2 separate regions of the Homo sapiens genome follow, and region 2 is linked to region 1. Evidence: promoter capture Hi-C in human tissues and cell types (Jung and others, 2019). All regions are on one chromosome and are shown on one strand. Each heading gives the region's core, a stretch centred on a gene start or on the middle of the fragment in contact. The rest is flanking DNA. Distances are from core to core; before and after follow the strand shown. Region 1 holds the start of SLC31A2 (solute carrier family 31 member 2). Region 2 overlaps HSDL2 (hydroxysteroid dehydrogenase like 2).

Region 1 (6,828 bases), core at 1-2,500:
AGATGGCTCACGTCTGTAATCCCAGCATCCCAGCACTTTGGGAGGCCGAGGCGGGCAGATTACGAGGTCAGGATTTCAAGACCAGCCTGACCAATATGGTGAAACCCCGTCTCTACTAACAATACAAAAATTAACCAGGCATGGTGGTGCGCGCCTGTAGTCCCAGCTACTCGGGAGCCTGAGGCAGGAGAATTGCTTGAACACGGGAGATGGAGGTTGCAGTGAGCCAAGATCGCGCCACTGCACTACAGCCTGGGCGACAGAGCGAGACTCTGTTTCAAAGAAAAGAAAAAAAGCTGTGTGACCCTGAGGATTCTACCATTTACTGAACAAGCTCCCACTGCCAGGTTACATGATAATTTAACATGTATGTTTTCATTTAATCCCTATGACATAGATTTTATTATTATTTTCATTTTACTGACCAGAAAACTGAGGTTCAGAGATGTAAGCTATTTGCCTACGGTCCCAAAGCCAATAGTTGATGCGTATGGATGTGAACTGAGGTTAGCTCCAGGCTCAAGGTCTCTGCTAATACTGTCCTTAGTAAGGTTTCTCTGAAGAGCCTCTTTACTCATAGGCTGATTAGCAAAGGGTTCCTAAATATGCTTAAGAATCAATAACCATTAAAAATCCCTCACCCTACAAGAAACTCCCCATCAAAAAACTGGATCAGTGAAATGAACAGGCAATACACAGAAATGGAAGTACCCGTAAGAAAAATAGTTTACTACCCTAGTAATCAAAGAAAAACAAAATTACACGGGTGTATTCCTTTTGGCTTATCAGATTGGAAAATATTTTTCTAAAAAGAAAAATGTAATTATCTTGTAATGACTACACTAAAAATCTAGGGCATAATTGACTTAATTTACTCCAAATGTGTTGCTATTGCGTCCATAGCACGGACTTGCCCATTTCAACTCAATATATGTTACGCTTGGGGTAGTTTATTACAATGAGCAATAAACATTCTCATAATCGCCAAGACAAGCCAAGTGCAAAACAGGAAGGGCGAAGACAGAGGGCAGCAGGTGGTCCCTCTCGCTCGCGACTCCGGGAACGCCAAGCCTCAGCCCTTGGGAACCTGGGGCGAGGCGCCTGGGTCTCGGCCAGGGGGCGCGCCCGAGGACGCCGAAGTAGGGCGCGTGTGGGGACCACAACTCCCAGGCGCCCGCGCGCCGCCTCGCCCGGACCACGTGATCCGTGCGGCCAGGGTAGCTATCGCGGCGGCGGCGGCGGCGGCGGTTGAACTGACTCGGAGCGAGGAGACCCGAGCGAGCAGACGCGGCCCTGGCGCCCGCCCTGCGCACTCACCATGGCGGTAAGGGCCGGGCGCTACGGTGAAGAGGGTGGGCGGTTGGGGCGGGGTCTCCTGGAGCTGCCATCTCGGCACCCCGAATCCTCGCTGCCGCTGGCCCGGGGCTGGTGAAGGGTGTGTTGGCAGCATTGCCAACAGCTGGAACAGGGTTGGGGGACGCGGCAGGTATAGGTTGCGGTGGCTCTGTGGTTTTCCTCTTTATTTGTCCCTCCTGCTGGGAGGCAGTCCGGCTAGGCGAGCAGTTACCGAGCGCCCGCGGTGGCGCGGCTTGAGAGTGGGGGCGCGGTGGCTGAAGACAGCTGGGTCCGGGGCCCCCGGCCCCGGACCTCTGGCCGGCGCCCCAGGGCGGAGAGCAGCGCCTTGGGAGATTCCAGGAAGGCTTCCACGAAAGGGAAACCCCCGGCGCATTTCAGCCCGCAGCCCCGCGCGCACACCGAGCGCACATCCCCGGCCCTGCTCTTGTCAAGTTTGTAGCCTGATTCTTCGGGGAATAAAACAGAACCAGCTACTTTCCAGCTTCCCTACACTTTCAGTCAGAAAACAGCGTTTCAGACAAGCTGTTTTTCTTGGTAGGGTTCACCTGGGCTGGAGAGAACGACAGCTTGCAAGACTCGTTCGTCTTTGAAGAAGTCATATCATTTTCTTCATCCCATGAAGAATGTCATAGAATTTAAGATACAGGAAGCTCAGCCTGGGCAACATAGCTAGACCCCGTCTCTACAAAAATTAGCCACAAGTGGTGGCAGGCGCCTGTAATCCCAGCTACTCGGAGGCTGAGGCAGGATGAGGAGGATTGCTTGAGCCCAGAAGTTCCAGGCTGCAGTGAGCCATGACCTTCGGCCTGGGCAACAGAACAAGACGTCCTCAAACAAACAAAACAAAAAAAAAAAGATATAGGAAGTGTATGTAGGCCATTTAGTGAAATGATCAGCCGTCCTTTAAAAAGGGAAATAGATGGAAAGCACTTGCAAAAGTTCCCCAGCCAGTCAGCCTAGCAACTGGGACCTTCATCTCCTTCCCAACCCTTGTTTACAAATAAGGAAGCTTTTCTCAAAGTGTAAGTAACCCCAAATGAAGAAATATAGAAGAAAACAAGTTCCAGGGATTGCTCCCTCCTTCACCACAGCCCCACCCTGAAAAAAGCACAAATCAGTTAAACTTTCAGAGGCCAAGATTCATCCCAAGTAGGAAAACAAGATTGGGGCCCTGCCCCTTGCCTATCTGACCACAAAGCCCTTTAATTGAAAACTGTAGCCCAGATCGCTTCTCTCAAGTCAGGGTGTGCTGACTTCCATCTTTTCCTCTAGCAAAAAGGCAAAAGTAGAAAGGGTTGAGTGACAGGTGAGTCTTCGTCCCTCTGGGGCTTCGGACTCCGTGGGTGTTTCCAGCTCTGAACAAACCATACAGTTCATCTTCCCAGCTATCTCCTGCTTCTCTGGCTTCAGAACCATCCTAGCCAACTGCTCTCTGGCCAGGGCAGGTGTCTCTCAGGCGGCTTGGTCCCCAGCACCCCCAGGGAGCCTCCACTGTGCCTCCCTTTCTCTGACCTACAACCTGTTGTAATTATTTGCTCACTTAAATGTCCCCCCTCATAGACAGGTAGCTCCCTAAGGGCCAAAGACTTGTCCCATTCATCTCTGTATCGCCAGGGTCTGCACAGACCTAGCACAACAAAAAGAAATCTTTCAAATTACTCTTACTGTTCTGTGGGTGTTCAGGTCTATGGCAAAACATGTCTGGGCTGTTTTGGGCTCCTAAGATAACTGGCCCAGGCCCAAGGATGATAGAAGGAAACCAGTTATGGCAACTCCCTGACTGATTAATTAGCCACTAGGGACATTCCATTCATACCATCTGCTTTACCAAATGGACTCAGAGAAGGGGTGATGGGTGTCACCCCTACCTCTACCTGGCAGAGATGGTGCTAGAGGCTTCTGCTGAGGATGAGGCCATCTCCGGTGTAAATGGAGTTTCACAGTATTGTTTGTACCTGTTTGGTTTTGTATATCAATCTTGCGTAAACATTTTGCTGTGTCAAAATGTTTTTTTTTTTTTTGAAAGCCTAACAGGAGAGATCTCTGAGTAGTAAGACTCAAAATGATTTTTTACTTTCTTTTCGGTACTGTGTCAGCTTTTTACATTGAGCTAGTGCCATTGGGGGTGGGGGGTAAAAGCTATTCTTATTTTTAAACTCTTCAACATTTTTTAAAGTCTTCAACATGATCTTTATCATGTTGTGATGTGACCGCCTAGATTTCCATTTTGAAGCTCTCATATAATTTACTTGACCAGTCCCTACTGGTTGACAGGAGACCATCATGGTTCCTATGATTTCTCAAAGTGTGACCCCCAACAAACACCTGTCCTAGAAACACCTGTCCCAGAAACACCCAGTACACTAAGGTTTGAGAACCAGTACAGGCTTTCCAGAAAACTCTCTGGCTCTGGGTACCTGATTGCCGAGTGACCATGGGGAGATAAGTGGGCTTTTATGTACCTTCCTTGTTAAAGAGGTTAATAATAGTAGGCACCTGCGGAGATGTCACAGGGAGTGACACATAATAAATGGAAGGTGAACGTGGTACAGGCACATGCAGTCCCTCAGAAGACACAGAGCTGTGTGGCTGTTCTGTCCAATCAGATGCTTTCACATTTCTTTCTCTGTCCTGCAGCTCCACGGTCTCCAGTGAGCCCAGTCCCTGGGTAGGCGCAGGCAGGGGTTGGTGACACAAGTCAGACCCCTTTTGGCACTGAAAGGCATGTTAGCTGAGTGTAGGGAGTAGAACAGCCAGGTTAGTCCCAGGTCTCTACCAAACCCCAGGCTGCAGCGTCCAAATCTGAGAGATGCATAGATGTGGTGCCCCATCCAACCCGGAAACAGAGGCACACTCACTGTTATTGTTGTTGTTTTTGAGACAGAGTCTTACTCTATTACTCAGGCTGGAGTGCAGTGGCATGATCTTGGCTCACTGCAACCTCCACCTCCCGGGCTCAAGTGATCCTCCCACCTCAGCACCTCCCAAGTAGCTGGGACTACAGGCACATGCCACCACACCCAACTAATTTTTGTATTTTTTGTAGAGACAGGGTTTTGCCATGTTGCCCAGGCTAGCACTTTTTTCTTTTACAAGGTTTCAGGAAGAGTAGATAGAGTTCAAGATGGGAGCCTGTGAAAGTGAGGCCAAACCAAGGGAAAGGGTTCCTAGAGTCCTGTCCTCATCTTACAGACGAGGAGACTGGGTCCACAGGGGGCTTTCTGCGTGTCAGCAGCTCAAGGCCACGCAGCTGGTTCCTGGCAGAGCTGGGAGGGAGATCCAGGCAGTGCAGCTTTAGAGACCGTGCCCCTAACCACTAGCCTTGCTGCCTCTGTTCAAACTGCAACAAAGTGAACTGAGCCTCAGAATCTCCTGAAGGGGGCTGGTTAAAATCTATGTCTTCCCTGTCTCCTGTGGCTCTGACCCTGGACTCTGATTTAGGGGCCTGAGGAGGCCCAGGAATCTGTACTTTTAATAAGGCCCTGGAGTCTAAGCAGCTGCTGCTGTCCCTCTACACTAAGCCGCTTGCCAGTGTGGAGCTCATGATTGGCCTGTGGTTTCCCAGTGATTCACCCGGGACTGACTCTGCCTCTGTGGATCCGGCTATAACAGCATCGTCATCCACACCTGTGATCCGCTCCAGTGTCCTCCCTCCCACCCTATCCTCTTTGCCTTTTCATCCTGTTGTCCGCTGTTGTCCCTGGGCTCTGGTCTTACTGTCCCATCCCCAGACTGGTCCTTGTTTGTTTCCTTTATTTAAGGTGCACTCTTCATCTTTCTCAGGAAATATGGGCCAGCTATTGGCTGAACATCCTTCGGGGGCTAAGCATGACTATCCTAATTGCACAGAGGCTTTTTCTCATACATTCCTTCCTCTCCCCAATTTCTTCCCATATTTTGTTCCAAAGTGGCCATATCAGTTTCTTCTGCTGTTTGCATATCTTCCTGAAATGTTAAAACAACCGAACGACAGCACAGCCCTCATCTCTGTCTAGTATTGCACAAGAAAGTGGGCTGTTCTCTGTGTTGTAGCATCTGTTTTCCTCTTGCCAAATGAGGGCCTGGTAAGAAGACCCAGGATCCAGTCCTGATGCTGCCACCAACTCACAGTGTGACCCTGGGCATGTCACAGCTGCCCCTTGGACTTCCAGTGCTGCCCTGAGAAGCTGCATTGAGAGCAGTTAGGAGCACAGAATCTGAAACCAGCCCACCCAGGCAAAATTCTAGCTAGCAACTTGGCAAGTTACTTAAACTCTGTCTGCCTTAGTAGTCTCATCTATGAAATGGAGCTAAGAATAATAATTCCCCTCTTGAAATTGAGTGAGTTAAGACATATAACATTTTTAGAAGAGTGCCTGGCACAGAATAATCAGTGTCATTTCCCTCCCAGCATGAAAAAAGAGGGTTGCTCTAAATTAGCACTTCCTAGAGGATAGTCTATGAGATTCTTTCCCACAGGGCACTCAGCAAGAGAAAAAGGGGAGGAGAGAGTTCTGGGTACAGGCTTCTGGCAGTGCAGAAAGCTATTAAACCTTATTTTGTCTAATTCCAGTCTCTCTCAAACTCCCTTGACCATAGAATCCATTTTTCCCAGTACCTCCTAGCATCCTGTACTTCTCCCATGGAACACTTCTGAGAAACACCCCTCCAGCTTTGACATGTATGGGAAAAAAAGGCACTGGGGTTATTGAGCCCTTACTGTGTGTCACTTTGTGTGGATGGCTTTGCAGAGTTTTCCCCCAGCTCCCCTCGGAGGAAACTGAGGCCAGAGAGAGGCCCTGGTTAACAAATGTGTTTTGTTCCAAATCCTGGACTCAGACTACTATTCTTTACTATCTCCTTTGGTCCTAACTGTTGAGAGGGGGAGGATTGGAGACGACTAGAACATGCAAGGCCTGTGGTTTAGGGCTGTCGTCTGCAAGCAGAAGTTTGTGGCTCTGGTTTCCAGGAGGCTACAGGACACCCACATGGCACAGCTTCCTGACAAAATGGCAGCTAATCAAATCTGCCTACCTTTCCACCCCCACACTGACGTTTGCCTCCACCGGAACTCCTTTTCTGTAAGAACTGATGGCCCCCACAGCCTTCACAAGTACCCACAGTCTCACTCCATATCTTCCTCCCTTGAACAGAAACTGAGAGTAACCCGCTTATAAGGAGGTCCGGCAAATCCTTTTCCCTCTTCATACTCATTTTCCTCACCTGGAAATGAGAGGGGGTGGAGAGGGACTCAAGTTGGGCCAGATCAGCATTTTTCAAACTGAGTTTCATCAGAGCTCATATTTCTCTCCCCTCTCCACCCTGAGCCCCGTGTTTTACATAATGGAATTAGAAGAAAGATTTTAATTGGCTGGTGTTCCCTGGTGAAGAAAGCTGAAAGCCATGGGACTAAAAACTCTGAGGATACCTCTAGTGCTGAGATTCAAGGATTCTAATATTTGGCCATTGTCTTAGAAGGCAAAGGCTTCCACT
Region 2 (6,828 bases), core at 2,273-4,772, 720 kb before region 1:
TGCACATATTCTTCTTAGCTGTGTGAGCTGCAGTAGCTGTCTGTACCTAGCTTCCCCTTATATAAAATTAGGTATTATAAATAACCTCTAAAGCCCTTTGTTGCATATTTTTCAAACTTTTAATTATGAAAAAAGTCAAACATATGTACAAACATGTATACAAGTAGGGAGAGTAGTACATCACGTACTATTCCGCTTCAGCGATTTCACCACATGGCCAATCTAGTTTTACCAGCCCTCACATCTCCATCTCCCTTTAACTCCACTTCTAACCTCACCAGATTATTATTATATTATTAATTAATTAATTAATTGATTAATTATTTTTTCGAGGCAGAGTCTCACTCTGTCACCCAGGCTGGAGTGCAGTGGCACGATCTCAGCCCACTGCAGCCTCCACCTCCCAGGTTTAAGTGATTCTCCTGCCCCAGCCTCCCGAGTAGCTGGGATTATAGGCGCCCACCGCTGTGCCCGGCTAATTTTTGTATCTTTAGTAGAGAGGGTGTTTTGCCATGTTGGCCAGGCTGGTCTCGGACTCCTGACCTCAAGTGATCCACCCGCCTCGGCCTCCCAAAGTGCTGGGATTACAGGCCTGAGCCAATGCGCCTGGCCCTCGCCACATTATTTTTAAGCAGATCTCAATCATAGCATCATTTCATCTGTACATACTTCAATATGTATTTTTAAATGATTCGGTCTCTTTAAAAAGACAAAATTATTATCATAGCTAACAAACATACCTTAATATCATCTAATATCTAGTCAGTGTTCAAATTCCCTCAAGTGTCTCATAAATGTTTTCTTTGCAGTTGGTTTATTTACATCAGGATCTAAATTGTTCCATACATTGCATTTGTTTGATAAGTCTCAAGTGTTTTTAATCTAAAGCAGTTACACTCATTTTTTTTCTTGCCACTTATTTCTTGAAAAACCAGGTCGTTTATCTTATAGGAGTTCTGTCATTCCAGATTTTCCTGATTCTCCCAGTCGTATCATTTAACATCTTTCTATATCCTGTAAGGACCCTTATATTAGTATATTGTTTATTCCCATTCTTCTTTCTTCTGGCATTATTTTATTTATTCATTCATCATCCAACAACTATTGATTGGACAGTTATCACGCAGCAGACATGGGTATTGGGGATACTTCTTTGGCCTTTTTACCTAGTGTATGTCTAGGTTGGTAGAAGTTAGGTTTTAAAAGCATATTTAATCCAGCATTTATGCAAAGTATTATTAAAGCCCTGGTGGTACTCTTGAACTGAACTGCCGCATATAGCTGTGTGGAACATATCCAGAGTTGCTTCCTATCTGCTATGTACTGGATAAAGGGAGTTCCCCGGCTCCAAGCAGTACTGAAGATTCTGTGGCCTGTGGTGTAGACGATGGGAAACAAAGGACTATGGGTGAGAATTTACTGAGTACTGGGGCATGCTGCTGAGGTAACTCTTAGGAATATTTGACAGTTGCAGCCAGCTTTCCAATCACCATCTTTCTTTTTCTTCTAAGTAGTCCAGGAATCAGTTTGGTTAAATTCCTTTCTTCTGCAATTTGACCAAGACTCCTTTCTTCCCTGGTCCTCACTGTGGGACCAAAACCATGTTTTATTGCTTCTTTGTTTCCTTTATGTTTCTGTAGCAGACAATTCTTTTAAGATTTTCTGAAGAGTGTTGTTTTTTGCAGTGGGGAAAAAGATGAGAGTGAAAAAGGCACTTCTTCAATATTTCTCAAACTATATGTCAAGACTCGTTGGTGAGGCATGAAATCAATTTAGTGGATTGTGAAATTGATTTAGTGAGTAGCAGCCAGAGTTGTTTTGTTGTTGTTTTGTTTTATTTCTAGTGGAATCGAATAGAAAATATTAGAGTGGATTGCATGGAGGAAGGGTCAGTATTGTTTCATAAGCTTTTGTTTCATATATGAAAATGTTACTTATTATGGGTCACAGCCAAAAAACTTAAAAGCTTACACTTTATGGTGCCTCTCTTTTTCAACTTCTTTGCCTTTTCTCACCCTTTCTCAATTACCCTTCCTCACATCACTGTTGTCATTAAAGTTGATACAGAGAGTTAGGAAGTTAAAAAGGGAGGTCTCTGAGGTAACAAAGTTCTAACATATTATTTTCCCTCTTTGTACCTCCCTTATGTTACTTGTCACTTTCTTTTTTGATTTTTGAGACAGTCTTGCTCTGTTGCCCAGGCTGGAGTGCAGTGGTGCGATCTTGGCTCACTGCAACCTCTGCCTCCCAGGTTCAAGCGATTCTCAGGCCACAGCCTCCCAAGTAGCTGGGATTTCAGGCGCAGGCCACCATGCCCAGCTAATTTTTGTATTTTTAGTAGAGATGGGGTTTCACCATGTTGGCCAGGCTAATCTTGAACTCCTGACCTTAGGAGATCTGCCTGCCTTAGCCTCCAAAGGTGCGGGGATTACAGGCATGAGCCACTGTGCCCAGCTGACTTCTCACTTTACATTCATTCATTTTCCAAACATTCATTCTTACATGCCAGGCACAGTTCTCTGCACTATTCAGTTGTTATGCATTTGACAGATAATTTATTAACTATCTACTCGGTGCAAGGCAACATGGGTACTAAGATGAATGTGACACAATCCTTACCCTCAAGGAGTTTACCATTTAGTGTGGGAGATTTAAGAGTTTGTTACCACCATTTGTACTTTGTCCTCCCCTCTGCCCTTTCCTCTACTTCCCTAACCTGTAGGTCTTTGGGATCCTGGGGTAACAAAGTCAGAAAAAGCCTTCTTTGACTCTTAAGAATTTTAAATTTTATTCATACAATAAACATTCATCGGACACTTATTTTATGCCAAGCTGTGCTCTGTTTGCTGAAGATACATCAGAGAACAAAAGAGATATCAATCGCTGTCCTTATGGAACTTATAGTCTAATTGGGAGAGATACAATAGACAACATGATGAATGGCAAAGTATATAGTATGCTAAAGGTAATATGCTATGAAAAACAGAACAAAGGAAGGGGGATTGGAGTCTCAGCCATTGAGGAAGGAAGGTGGCAATTTAAAATAGAGTAGAAAGGTTTGGCATTAGGCCAGGAGTGTTGGCTCCTGCTTGTAATCCCAACACTTTGGGAGGTCAAAGCAGGCCGATCGCTGGAGCCCAGGAGTTCGAGACCAGCCTGAGCAACATGGCAGAACTCCATATCTACAAAAAGTAGCAGGGTGTGGTGGTGTGCGCCTGTCGTCCCAACTACTCAGGGGGCTGAGGCAGGAGGATCACCTGAGCCTTAGGAGTTCAAGGCTGCAGTGAGCCGTGATCATACCACTGCACTCCAGCCTGGGCAACAGAGTTAAACCCTATCTCAAAAAAAAAAAAAGAAAGAAAAGAGATGTTTGGCCTTTCTGAGAGTGCCAAGTCCTAACCGTCAGACCACCAGGGAAGGTAGGTTTGGCCTTTCTGAGAAGGTGACGTTTGAGCATAGACTTTGACATTTGAGCATACCGTTAGTCTTGGGGGTAATACAGTTAGCCAAAGGTTATCTGAGGGAAAACATGCAAGGCAGAGGAAGCAGCAGTGGATAGGTCCTGTGGACTAGTATGGCTGGCATGATGCAAGAGCAGGGAGAAGACCAGTGTCGCCAGAGTGAGGGAAGAGGAGTAGAAAATGAGACGATGTCCATAAGGAAATGGGGGTCAGATGTTATAGGCCCTTGCCAAGACTTGGTCTTAGATTACTCTGGGTGAAATGAGGAGCTGTTTCAGGTTTTCAAGCAGAGAAGGGACCTGATCAAACCTAAATGTTTAAAAAACCTCTCTGGCTGTTCTGATGAGCCTAGATTCTTGAGGGGCAAAGGGGGGAACAGTTAGGAGGCTATTGCAGGAACTGAGGCACAGATTTTGGTGGCTGTGACCAGGATGACAGCAGTAAAGGTGGTGGACAGTGGCCAGATTCTGATATATTTTCAAGGTAGAACCAACAGTATCTGCTGATGGATTGCCTTTGGGATGTGAGAGAAAGAGTCAACAGTGACTCCAAGATTTCTGGAAAATAGCCTGGTGCGGTGGCTCGCATCTGTAATCCCAGCACTTTGGGGAGGCCCAGGTGGGTGAATCACCTGAGGTCAAGAGTTCGAGACCAGCCTGGCCAACATGGTGAAACCCCATCTGTACTAAAAACAAAAAATTAGCCTGGCATGGTGACGCGTGCCTGTAGTCCCATCCACTCAGGAGGCTGAGGCAGAAGAATTGCTTGAACCCGGGAGGTGGAGGTTACAGTGAGCCGAGATCACGCCAGTGCACTCCAGCCTGGGTGACAGAGTGAGATTCCAACTCAAAAAAAAAAAAAAAAAAAAATTTAAAAAAAATAAAGATTTCTGGCTTGAGTTACTAGAACAGTGGAGTCGCCAGGAACTGAGATGGAGAAAGCTGCAGATAGAGCAGATGGAGGGCAAGCTTAGGAATTGTGTGGGGTGTTGTGTTTGAACATCCAAGTGGGGACAGTCATTAGGCAGCAGGCCTGGTGAATGAGGGTCAGGAGAGCGGTCCAGGTTGGAGATAAAAAAATCTGTGGGTTATCAGCATATAGAACATATAAAAAGCCACAAAACTACATGATACCATCTAGGCAGTGAGTAGAAGAGAAAGGACTATTGTCCATTTCAACATTGAAAGGTTGGGAAGAAGAGGAAGACCCACATAGGAGAGTAAGGTAGGAAGATGAAAGGAAGATGAAAGAGGAGATGAAAGCCGACTGAAGAAGGAGCTTGGGGAGTGATACAGTTTGGATGTTGTCTCCACCCAAATCTCATGTCAAAATGTCACCCCCAGTGTTGGAGGTGGGGTCTGGTGGGAGGTGATTGGATCATGGGGGCAGCTTTCTCCTGAACGGTTTAGCACCATCCTCCTTGGTACTGCCCTCACCATAGTGAGTGAGTTCTCATCTCGTTTTTAAAAGTGTGTAGCACACCACCTGGCTCTCTTGTTCCTGCTTTTGCCATGTGACGTGCCTGCTCCCTCTTCACCTTCCACCGTGAGTACAAGCTCCCCAAGGCCTCCCCAGAAGCCAAGTGATGTTGGAGCCATGCTTGTACAGCATGCAGAACTGTGAGCCAGTTAAACCTCTTTTATAAATTACCCAGTCTCAGGTATTTCTTTCTTTTTTTTTTTTTTTTTTGAGACGGAGTCTTGCTCTGTTGCCCAGGCTGGACTGGAGTGCAGTGGTGCGATCTCAGCTCACTGCAACCTCCGCCTCCCAGGTTCAAGCGATTCTCCTGCCTCAGCCTCTTGAGTAGCTGGGATTACAGGCGTGCGCCACCACACCTGGCTAATTTTTTTGTATTATTAGTAGTGACGGGGTTTCACCATGTTGACCAGTCTGGTCTTGAACTCCTGACCTCAGGTGATCCACCCACCTAGGCCTCCCAAAGTGCTGGGATTACAGGTGTGAGCCACTGTGCCGAGCCTAGGTATTTCTTTATAGTAATGCGAGAACAGACTAATACAGGGAGTGATCAATTGTGTCAGATTATGCTGATAGTTCTTACAAAATGGGACTGATCGTCAGGTTTAGTAGTCTGTACATCCCCTTCACATCACTTACACCGTTTGTAATTATTAATTTATAATTATGGTTGTTCAGTGTCTTCTTTGCTAGAATGAAAACTTCTTGAGGATAGGGACAGTGTTTGCTTTGTTTGTTTTATTATAGTCATTGTAGACATTCAATAAATATTTGATGAGTGAGTAAATGAGTGAATGAATGTGCAATATGATTACCTTCTGCCTAGCTCCAAAATATATTCTGGACAAAGCTTATATAATAGGCAGAATGTTCTGTATCAGGGAATATAGAGGGCATTATCTGGTCCAGCAGGAAAAATCAGCTCATTGCTGAGATCTTTGCTTTAGCTTCAAGATATTCATTTTAGAAGGTTTACTAGACATCTTGGAGCCAGTGATGTTATTTGGTCCTAGACTTGATGACACACTAAATCCAATTTACAGTCATGTTCCTTGTGGTGCATGGTATGATGAATTATGTACTGGATGTTGTGTTTTGTTTTTGTTTTTTGAGACAGAATCTCTGTCACCCAGGCTGGAATGCAGTGGCGCCATCTCGGCTCACTGAAACCTGTGCCTCCTGAGTTCAAGTGATTATCCTGCCTCAGCCTCCTGAGTAGCTGGGACTACAGGCATGCACCACCACACCTGGCTAATTTTTGTATTTTTTTTTTTAGTAGAGACAGGGGTTTCACCACATTGGCGAGGGTGCTCTAGAACTCCTGACCTCAAGTGATCCACCCACCTCAGCCTCCCAAAGTGCTGGGATTACAGGTGTGATCCACCGTGCCTGGCCTACAGGGTGCTTTTGAGACATAGTAGCTCAGGATAAAGGATCAGAGCAGTAGATTTTCAAAAGTAGGTAAACAATTGAAATGAGATCTCAAGGGGATGTTGGAATTTTTCAAAAAGGAGAACTGGGAAAGACATTTCTTGGCAGAGGGAGCGACGCATGCAAAGATTGCAGTTTGGGAAAATACTTTCTGTGCGGTGGAACTACAAGGTTGGTGTATGTATGATAGGGTGTGGGCTTGTTATTTCCCACTGAACTTGAGCAACTCAAGTTGTACAGGTTGACTGGAATGTTGGGTGAGTTTGAGAGTGTGGGGAAGATGGATGAGATGGATGGTCTTGTCTGCCAAGTTTAGGAGCTTGAATTTTAACCTATATTCAGTGGAGAGCCACTGAAGAATCTTAGAAGCAGAGGATTAATAATAAACTGGGGAAAATAGGAGCAGTGAAGTAATATGGTTGCTGATGAGGTTTAGGAAGTTTAATCTGGCATCTGAATA

Evidence for each region. Contacts are between HindIII fragments. The study calls those that stand out against the background at their distance.
Region 2: a fragment that was not itself captured here is called in contact with the fragment with the promoter of SLC31A2 in region 1 in 2 of the 25 tissues and cell types used here (adrenal gland and heart right ventricle).

Annotation. Positions count from the first base shown.
Region 1 is chr9:113,149,757-113,156,584 of GRCh38, forward strand. SLC31A2 (solute carrier family 31 member 2) reads left to right here and starts at 1,251. Exons shown (of 4, transcript NM_001860.3): 1 at 1,251-1,324. The coding sequence starts at 1,319. RefSeq lists an enhancer at 6,173-6,467. The HindIII fragment of the contact is 13,784 bases long and covers 1-6,473 here.
Region 2 is chr9:112,426,743-112,433,570 of GRCh38, forward strand. All of the region lies in intron 6 of HSDL2 (hydroxysteroid dehydrogenase like 2), which reads left to right. Among named protein-coding and RNA genes, the nearest start is that of HSDL2, 50 kb to the left of the region's middle. The HindIII fragment of the contact is 3,172 bases long and covers 1,937-5,108 here.